Linked DNA regions of Homo sapiens: region 1 is linked to region 2. The links are contacts of gene promoters, found by promoter capture Hi-C in blood cells and fetal thymus (Javierre and others, 2016). All regions are on one chromosome and are shown on one strand. Each heading gives the region's core, a stretch centred on a gene start or on the middle of the fragment in contact. The rest is flanking DNA. Distances are from core to core; before and after follow the strand shown. Region 1 has its middle 210 kb from the start of RASSF9. Region 2 holds the start of NTS (neurotensin).

Evidence for each region. Contacts are between HindIII fragments. The CHiCAGO score rates a contact against its expected background, and 5 or more counts as called.
Region 1: a contact is called between a fragment that was not itself captured here and the fragment with the promoter of NTS in region 2, in 1 of 17 cell types (megakaryocytes). The highest score is 5.5, in megakaryocytes.

Annotation. Positions count from the first base shown.
Region 1 is chr12:85,621,143-85,626,145 of GRCh38, forward strand. No RefSeq gene overlaps it. Among named protein-coding and RNA genes, the nearest start is that of RASSF9, 210 kb to the right of the region's middle. RefSeq lists an enhancer at 4,616-5,003. The HindIII fragment of the contact is 2,094 bases long and covers 2,676-4,769 here.
Region 2 is chr12:85,871,738-85,877,346 of GRCh38, forward strand. NTS (neurotensin) reads left to right here and starts at 2,558. Exons shown (of 4, transcript NM_006183.5): 1 at 2,558-2,739; 2 at 4,903-4,964. The coding sequence starts at 2,667. The HindIII fragment of the contact is 11,906 bases long and covers 945-5,609 here.

The DNA of each region.
Region 1 (5,003 bases), core at 2,473-4,972, 250 kb before region 2:
GTCAGACTCCTCTGAAGCTTCTTGCCAACTAGGCCACAACTTTTGGACTTCTGTGTCTGTCTTGTATCACTCAATTTTAGCAAGAATCCTGCTAAGCTGGTTTAGCGAGAATCCCTCACCTTCAATGACTGATCATCCTCAATATAATATCTGACAAATTTCCCCACCCCCTACCATCCCACAGGCGATGTCAGATCACCCTGGCTTGTCTTCATCAAGAGCTATGTCAGGTCCAAACAGCTAGAATCTCCTTTTACCCCTGCTGTTTCTTCTTAGTGATGTTCTATCCACTGCTCCTCACCCCATTTCTGTCTGTAAATTTCCACTTTATCTTGCTTGTTATATTCAGAATTGAGCCCAGTTCTACCTTGAGATTATTTTCCCTGTTGCAATGGTCCCAAATAAAATCTGTTTTTATCTATTTAGCTACTGATCAGCTCTTGTTTTCTTGGACAGTTCCCCTGCCCCACCTGGCCTTTTGGTTTGAAATGTTAGCTTCTTTCAGGACTCTCAGAGCTAGCTGCCTCATGTCCCTGCAGAGGTACCAGCAGCAACTACGCTTACATTGTGAACCCCAGTTCTGTGAGGACTCTCCTCTGTTCCTCTAGGCTCTGAAAACCCCATCACTTCTCTTTTGTTCCTTAAGCCCTAGAGGGGGTGGTAATTATATCCAACTTTGTAATCAATTATTTGAGTCTAATTTTCTTTGCTTGATATAACTTGTGTGGTTCATGTTTTTTTCCAGTTGGTCCCTGAGCGACCCATTAACTGACTTAATAACTTAATAGAGAAGAGAAAACTGAAGCCTGTTTAGATGAGGAAATAAACATGAAGTGAGAAGACTGAAGCCACAAAACATCAGAAAGTGTCAGAAACTGTAAACATGAGGAACCTGTGAAGATGAGGACAGGGGTGGGATGAATAGAGAAGGCCTGAGAGTGTGTCTTAGAAGCAGTTATATTCTACATATTCTTTTCCTTTTCCATACAGAAAGATGAACGTTTTTACATGGCTGTGGCAAGAAACAGAAGGTTCACTTTCACAATAACCGAAGCAGCACAGTCTAAAATTCATCCTAGAGCAGTCTCAGAATCTGGAACAACAAAAATGGTGAAAGCAGGGTAGAGCAGATTTAAGGAAATATAGCAAGAATGGGAAATGGGGATTAAGTGAAAATCATCTTATTGAAAACTGTCGTTGCCATCTCCTTTGAACTCTGAAACACTGACAGCTAGGTTCACATGGAAAGCAGAAATTGGATCATTATTCTCTTGATACGCTGAGAACCACAAGAGAAATAGCCATAGGTCCTGAAATTTGGTCTCCCAAATAGCTACAAAGACAGCTTGACCGATAGTCACTGGATAGTGAAACTCACTGGGTGAAATGCCCTGTTCCTACACACTGAAATTTCAGTTGCATGTTTGAGAGTTAAATATGAATGGCCAACCCATTGGCAGTTGAACAAAAGTGCTAATATAAGGGGCAAAATGACAACCAAAAAAAAAAAAAAAAGTAGAAAAAAGAGGCAAAGTAATAAGAGAGGAAAACATCACAAAATCTATTACTATATTTAGAGAAATAAAAGAATATAATTCTGCTTTTAAAAAAATAAAGATTATTTAGAGAACAAGAATATGTTCTTACAAAAATCAAGAATCTGGTAGCAAAATTAAATACACATATTTTTGGATATTTATATGCAATATACTTTTATATATACATATATGTATGCAGTAGAAAAAAAAAAGTTCGAGAAATTTCCCAGAAAGTAACACTAAAAGGAAAATTCATGGATATTAAGAGATAAGAAATGTTTAAGGACAATCATGAAAGTTAAATATCTGAATGCTAGGAAATCCAGAATAAGAAAACAGAGAAATTGAAGGGTCAGGCATGAAGAAGGAAAGATGCATTAATTATCAAGTAGGTAGTAAAAGAAAATTTCCCAGAACTGTGAAATATTAGTTTCTCAATTAAAAGACTCCATAGATAGCACATGAATTAAAACAACAACAACAACAACAACACACACACACACACAAATCATGGCACTTCATTATGTCATATTAGAAGACCAGAGATAAAGAGATGGTCTGAAAAACTTAACAAAAAGTTAAGAAGAGGGAAAAAAAGACACATGCAAAGTATCAGGAAATGGAATCGAAGGGGATGATGGCTTTTCTAAAATAATGTTAGCATTGCTTACATTTTAAACTGTAATCCTGATTGTCTTCAAATTAAATTTAAAGGTATGCATGGAATTTGCCAAATATCACAAAAGTAAATAATGACATGGTGGGATTCTGATCCAGATCTACTAACACCAATTTCCACCTTCTTCAATAGAGTTCAATATAGTTAGAGTTGGTGCAGAATAAACACAAATAAAGGAATGATTAAAGAAAAACTTTTTGAAAGTCAGTGTTGTGCTTGGTTTTCAAAATGATGAATCTGAATTGCTTGATAAAAGTAGAGAAAAACATTTACAGTTGATTAAATGATCACATGCTATTAAGCCTAGGAAAACTAGCTTTATTAAGGTGGAAAGAGTTTATTTGATAGGGTGTCTACAGTGTTTATAATACAGTTTACCAGGTACTTCATTCTCTTCTCTTTTCCTTTCATCTAGTAAAGACACCATTCTTCTTTCCACCCTGACTCCAAATGACCCAAGCTTGGCCAATTCTAATATCTTTCTCCCGTGGCTATAGTGATGATAGGCGCATGATACAAGGAAGACAAACCAGATCTTTACCCTGATATTTATAAAACTGGACATGTGACAGAGAAGGTCCTTTTTTCTAAAGTCATGAAACTGTTAGAATAAGAGCCCAGAGCTGCTAAGCACCATGTCTTTCACTATGTGAGGCAAAGTGGGAGAAAGGAAAAAAACAATGAGAGTAGAGTTTCAATAGCATTTTGAAAGCCACAATTCAACCTTGTATAATGCCAGCTTACTGATGTCTTTCCAGTGATTTGTTTGTATGAGACAATAAATTTAGCTTAAGTGAGTTGGGTTGACCTTCTATCACTGAACTTTAGAATCTTGGCTAAATCACAAGAAGTATTTGAAGGGTTATAGGGTACAAGGGAGAAAGTTAGTTGAGTAAATTTTGATGAAAAACTAAAGAGTGATTATTAGTTATAATAACTAATGGGGGGCAGTTCAGATTGTAGACTTGTTTAAAGTGATAAAACGGTTTTTAACAAAGTCACTTTTTCTATATCATTAAGAAGATGATATTGGGTGACAAAAAGGCTAGCAATAAAAAACAAGCCAAAATACAACTGTAAGAGTTCACTCATGATAAAGGATGAGTCTACCCTATAAAAATGGATGAATGTAAATTCTTTCTTATAGTTGTGCTTTTTGTTCATTTTAATTACTTGGATTTCTGCAAGCTGATAGTATTTAAAGGCCAAAATTTTTGATATTTATTTCACAGAATAGGTGAGAAAATAAAAACAATTTTTGAAAAGTTATAGCCAAAAAAAAACCAAACAAACTGTGTAGAGTTCATAAAGTGTTCTAAAACCTCTTTAATGCTAATTATGTTCCAGGCATTATATATAGCACTGCATCATCTATTTAACGCAACTCTAAAAGGTTCTTTTTATTGGGTCCATTTTTCAGATGAGGAAACCAAAATTCAGAGAGTTTAATGACTTGCCTGTGATTACACAGTCAGTAGGTAGAAACGGATTCCAACCAAAGCCTACGTAACTCCCAAATTCATCCTTTTCATAATGCTCCACTGCCAAATGGAAATGCATATCAAGTTTCATAGGTATAATTACCATGCTCTCACAAAAGAATATGTAAATTTACAATAGTAGAGTAGAATTTTCATAGATAAGAACTTTTATGTTCTGTTTCAATTTAGATACTGAATCTAAGGTTCTTTGAGAGCAGGACATGGCTTATACCTTTTGTCGTTATGTTGACTGCCCAAACAAAATTCACTCAATGCATTTTCTTTTTATTCTTAGAATCATATTAACATGATTCTTTATATATGAATTTCAATTTGCAACACTCTTAAACCTAATTTATTCTAACTGAATAAAAGTAATTTCTGATTAATAAATTTCATAGTTGATATATGTCATTGAGTTTTCCTTTCCAACTATATAGTTAAGTGTGACTTTCTGTTTTCTCAGTTTCAGCCAAGGCCCCAAGAGGCTAGACAAAACAATAGGTGTCAAGTTCCTACCATGATAAAGAAGGTTGAGAGGCCACCTAAAGAAGACTTAGAGGTCCTCTAGACCTGCACCGTGTAATACTGTAGTCACTGGTCACACGCATCCATTTAAGTTCAAATGTAAAAGCATTAAAATGAAGTAAAATTAAAAATTAAGTCCTCCAATTGTACTAGTCACATCTGAAGTGCACAATAGTCATGTTTGACTAATGTTTCTCATATTGAACAGTGTAATATAGAATATTTCCTTCATTGTAGAAAGTTCTGTTGGACAGCATTGATCTAAACAATGTGAAAAACACTTATAATGGAGTAGTTAAAAAACTGCCCCTTCAGCATTAACCTATAACTTATCCTTATTCCTATAAGAAATGCCCAAGAAAATGTGATTAGACATTGATATCTAACCCATTCCTCCAAAAAATATTTAAAGCCCTAATTTGTATCATTTTCTAATTTCCATGATATAAGTATTTCCAACGTATGGTTTCAAGCTACCGTGATAAAGCCACTGAATACAGCGTTGGGAATTGACTCTACCAGCTCTTCCGAGCCCTTCATATAAGCTTCATCTCCATAATAAACATTGCCTTTTACCAATTAAACCACAAAGCATGCTGGAAGAAAAAAAACCGGCATCCAACATGAAGGCCTGATACTAAGTTACAACTGAACCCGTCACATCTGGCCTTTTTGCCCCTGTACCACTTCTCTGCTCTCCTGTACTTGACACTGCAGAGATCAGAAATATGAGGTAAGAAATGTAAATACAGAGCAAAATATGAGGTAAGAACTGCC
Region 2 (5,609 bases), core at 1,308-3,807:
TACAAGAATTAGCTGGGCCTGGTGGTGTGCCTGTAGTCCCAGCTACTCGGGGGGCTGAGGCAGGAGAGTTGCTTGAACCCAGGAGGTGGAGACTGCAGTGAGCCGAGATCACACCACTGCACTCCAGCCTGGTGACAGAGAGAAGCTCCATCTCAAAAAAAAAAAAAAAGAAAAAAGAAAAAGGATCTGGGGTAAAAAGCCTTTAAAATAAAAACAGTTCACCCATCTCCATAGCAAGGTGTCTACAATCCTGCATTAAAGGCATCATTTAGGAAGTTCGTAGGGTACTTTTTAAGTGGAAAAATACATACTTAACCTTTATCCCTACAACAAATTGTTTTATTGGTTTATGTGTAGCTTGAAGGCATTAGATTAGAGCAAGAAACAAAAAGCCTAACACATTAAAGAAAATACCAATTAGAGGTCAAAGTTTATCTACATCATAATTTTACCAAAGTTATACATCTTTTTTCCCCAAAAGAAAAGTAGCATATAGCATCTATTTGAATTTGAATTATTTGACATAACTTAATGTTTCCCCTATTCTTGAATATTTATCACATATCTCAATTTTCACATTAACAACTAATATCCATGTTATATATTTAAAATGAATTTCCATTAATTCTTCTCCCCCTTTTTTCTAATTAATTAGGGATCAATTTTGTCAACATATTGAAGAAATCATCTGAGGAAAATAAGAATCACATTTCCTTTTTACTATTAGACTGCTATCACACATTTTAAAAGATCATTCTTTGTATTTGCAATTCAAAAGCAGAGAAAACAACTAATTTAATTATCATGCAAAGTATATATAATTTTCCCGATTTGTTAATCAAAGTGGCTTTAAGAGGATTCTGTCACAAAGATGCTCTGATAGTAACAGGAAAGTAAGCACAAATCCTCACTGAGACTCTGTTAAGTGAAAACCAAGTGTTTCAAGCTTCCATTGCTCCCCCTAATGGTAGGAAAGCAGAAAACATCTAGACGTATGTATTTCACATTTGTCAACTAAATACTTTACAGAAACCTTCCTCCATGTGAGTATGTTCAATATTGTGTTTTATGTAAGTTCAGAAAACAAACTAAAAGTAATAAATATATCAGTTATTATTAAATTTCTGGTATTATATGAAAGACTCCTTGCTATTCTAAGTAATTATTAAATGTTTGGATTTAATCGCTTTGCTTAAGTTTTGGGTAAAGGTGAAAAAGTTAAACTCATAGATTGTATAATATAAATCAATTATCTATAGGAACCAATCCTATTTTTTCTCAACTGTTACTACATGATTGATTTATTTAAAAATTAAACAAGACTCAGACAACTTTACATTCAAATATTCACATCTCTAACAGCACTGACTTGTCAAATTACCCCATGTATCTTGAAATGCTTACTACAAGAAGAAAGTTTTACTCTAAAAGGCATTTTGAACAATTTTCTTTTGAGAACTCAGACAAAGAATGGGTATCAGTGTAACTCATGAAATACATGAAGACTATCATAGAAAAGTGACTTTGGTGAATGGTGGTTATTTAGGATTGTCTCCTTTCCAAAAGTACAATCTCTTTTTTTATGGTGAAAAGAGTATTATAACAGGGAAAGAAAGCCGATGCAATAGTAAAAACTGTTGAGAAGGGAATTATACAAAGAGTGAGACATGGCATCAAGAATGAATTCAAAAAGAGCAGAAAAATATAGGCATAAAAAGAGATAATGTACAGAAAAAAAGTCAGTGATACAACAACACAAATTTTTACCTGCTAGAATGTAAGTAATTTAGAGCTGGATTTTATAAACATGAAATTGTTTTTCTAATACATTCAACCAAAAGTCAGCACACATAGTTCAGTCATCTCTCATTACTTACAATAAAATATTTTCTATTTGTTAGGAAATAATATCTTATTCCCTGGATCTATTATTTCTTTTTATTGATTTTCTTTCTATTCTCTAAACTTAATTGCTTAATTTTTATAACTGATTCTCTGTCTCTATTCCATCTTATTCCAGCATGGATTATTTAAAACCTGTATTAGTTTTGGAACCACTAAACATTTGCTCAGAAGTTTGAATTACCAGAGAAGCACCCTAACTCTTCAAGAACTTCCAAGCCTAAGGAATCACTGATTTCATGCATTCATCCTGGAGATTTTCCTTAAAAATTAGAAATAACAGATCTCATGTTTCACAAAATCAAAATGACAACTTTTGGAGTGGGGGAATGAGAAGTGGGAAAAGGATGATACTGGGGGTTCTTTGTCAGTATGCTGTATGTATGCTGTATGTCAGTGCAGTTGAATGACTCCTTCTGTGCGTCAGAAATCCAAAGCAGCAGCAGCAGCAATTAGGGAAGATCGTCACTTTCACTCAAGGTTCAGAAATGGGGGAGGAGAGCAGGGGGGACAAAGGAAAAGGGGAGGAGAAAGCAGGGCAAAGAGGGGAGGGATGGAGGTGAAGATAGGGCACATCCTGCAAAGATAATGTCTGTACAATCAATGACATCATCCTCCTGCTTATATATATAGGGGAATGGCCAGAGCACCTCTCATAGTTCACTCACTTTCAAAGCCAGCTGAAGGAAAGAGGAAGTGCTAGAGAGAGCCCCCTTCAGTGTGCTTCTGACTTTTACGGACTTGGCTTGTTAGAAGGCTGAAAGATGATGGCAGGAATGAAAATCCAGCTTGTATGCATGCTACTCCTGGCTTTCAGCTCCTGGAGTCTGTGCTCAGGTAAGCAAAACAGAATTTCACAACTCCCTGAAGTGATTTCTTTTTTCTCTTTTGCAGTGTGTTGCTACTTATGTTAATGTATCTGGGGAGAAGAGTTGCTCCCTTTTATTCAGGATTTACCTTTTAGTGACAGAAACTGAGTATCTCTTTCTCTGCCTTTATGATTACTGAGAGATGTATTTTCTCTTTTAAAATCTGCAAAGCAATAAAAGGGATTTCAATGAAACACTGCACGACCTCCTTTGGAATTCAACAACTAGAGGGAAAAAAACCCTACAAAACTTTCAATTAGGCTGATCATTATCTAATGAGAAATACAGAGGCAGTGGCTGTCAACCTGCAAACCCATCATTAAATCCCATTCCATTCAAAATGTTTTACTCTCATCCTCATTCATTCTCTTAGGAAGCGGTGGCCCTCACGCCCTTGTAATAGTCCCCGTATTATTTTCTTGTTTGTGTTAAGATAACAAATAAAGTGAAAATTGATACTTAGTGAAAAATGAAGCATTATTTGTAGAAAATTATTTCTAGAAAAATACAAAAATATTCCAGATCCTTTTTGAGAACAGAATTTGCATAGTCTAATAAGTGTGCTATTAATATAACTGTTTGGCATTTTTTCCATGCCATTTAAGTTAATACAAAATACAATTGGAAAATTGGTATTCTTATATTGATGGAAATTATTTGACTTTAGAGTGTTTTGCATGTGGTTTGAAAGAAGTTATATAGTCCTAAGTATCTACGAATAACTCACTTTGAAAATAAGACTTAAATTGAAAGGTATAACATGAAATATTACAACCATTGCAAAAGGCTCTACTTAATATTTAAGAAATATTACAATGAACACTTCAAAGGGAAAAGAACACATTAGGAAGCAAATGCAGCAAAAATAATTTAACCTGTTCTGTGCTTTTATGTATCATAAATATGACATGGAAATGTTTAACTCAAACTCATGCTATCATTTGATTTAAATTATGAAATTAAAATCTAAGAAGATATAAATGTGATTTATACAAAATTTTAAATTTATTTTAATCATCAGAACATAACTTTCAGCTTCTACTTTTTAAATCTTATGAGAAAAAACAAACTTTTCTATAATTATGATTTTATCTGAAAGTTATATGAGATTAAAGATTCACATACTTCTGGAAGAAAAACTGGGTTATTGATTAAGCACTGTGTTTATTAACTTGAAACTACTTGTTGTAATAATGCAATAGTTATAAGGATTTTGGTATACATTGTTCATAAATTCCTAAAACAGATTATGTCTCTAACAAATAGTGAGAAAAGATCTCTTGTATAATTTAGGTTCTAGGTAAAATTAAGCCAATGGGTTCTCCAATTGTGGCATTTCTTTTTACTGAGTGTGTAGTACAAGGAAGATAGAGTCATTTTTAACTTTATTTTTATTATTGTATAGTATTTTCCAAATTTTCCTTCTCTGTAAAATATTCATTAACAGAAACTTGGATAGAGTTTTTTAAAAATCCAGAGATCCATTTTCAATGCTGTTGTACATGTGTTGTTGAACAGCTCCACTTTTGCTTTAAACAATTTCCTTAAATGCCTATGAAAAAATTGAGGATACATAATTTTGAATTCTCTTAAAGTACAATACAATTCTTTCAACGTGTGTTTTGTAAAAAACATCTCAAGTTAAGTAAACCTCAGTATCTTTATTATTCTAAAATTATCAGTAAGCAATTCCCTTTGGTTTTGTCTTGAAAAAGTCTCTTGTATAGTCTTCATTATGTTGTGTTTTTAAATGTTAATATGCATATTTTCTATATATGTAAACTGTGGCTGGTAAGAAATAAGCTACTCTAGCATATTTGGTAAAATATGTGTTATACAATGTAATCACATTTTTAAAGCCTGAAATTCAAAGATTAAACAACTCCCAGTGATCAATAGCTGTCTGAAAAATAATCATATGCTTATTTTCTTAGAAGTGCTTCTACTATTTTAGCTTCCTATTATGCTAAAGTATAACTATAATTTGTTTTTTAGGATTACTATTTTTAAGAAAATACATAAGAAAGACACTAACCTCTAAGATTTTTTTTTAGATTAACCTAAAATCTGTAGATTATGATATAATTATATGATATGTAATTATAGTAAACCTGATTTTGATTTTACTCAGATTCAGAAGAGGAAATGAAAGCATTAGAAGCAGATTTCTTGACCAATATGCATACATCAAAGGTAACTTTTTCTTTTCTTTAACCCTGAGTTGAAGAACATATGAACTTTCATTATAAACATGGTATCCTTTTCCCATAGTAATAACTTCTCATCAAGATTGAAAAGTTCCTTGAGAGGCATTTCCTTTTTGAAAAAAAAAATTTCTTTTAGTTAAAAGAAGTTAAAGGTGTTGATATGACAGGCAAAGAAATTATAATTCTATCAATCAGCATGTTGCAATTTTAATTAATTGCCACACATATTTACTTGCCTGTAAATGTTTTTAAAGGAACTTGCTTCCATGCCTTTTACATTGGGTATGATGAAAGGTATATTGGTCTCAAGTTAAATGAAAACAAAGTGAGCTCTTTGCCTTTTTTATTATATTGGGGGAAATAAAAAGGTGTTCCTAAATTAGAAATAAAAGTTCATGACAACCTGCAAAAGAAATGTAGTATAGAGGGGATAGCAATGGACTGGTAAGCAGGAGCATTGAGATCTAATCCTGAAACAGTGACTTATTAAATATTTTATCTTTAGCAAGTGGATTAGTTCACCTTGCTTACCTGTGTTTCCTTGTTTTTAAATGCAGGGATTGCAGTTCGTAATCTTCTAGACATTTACCGTTCTACAATGTATTTAGGAATTACTAAACTGTACTCTTCA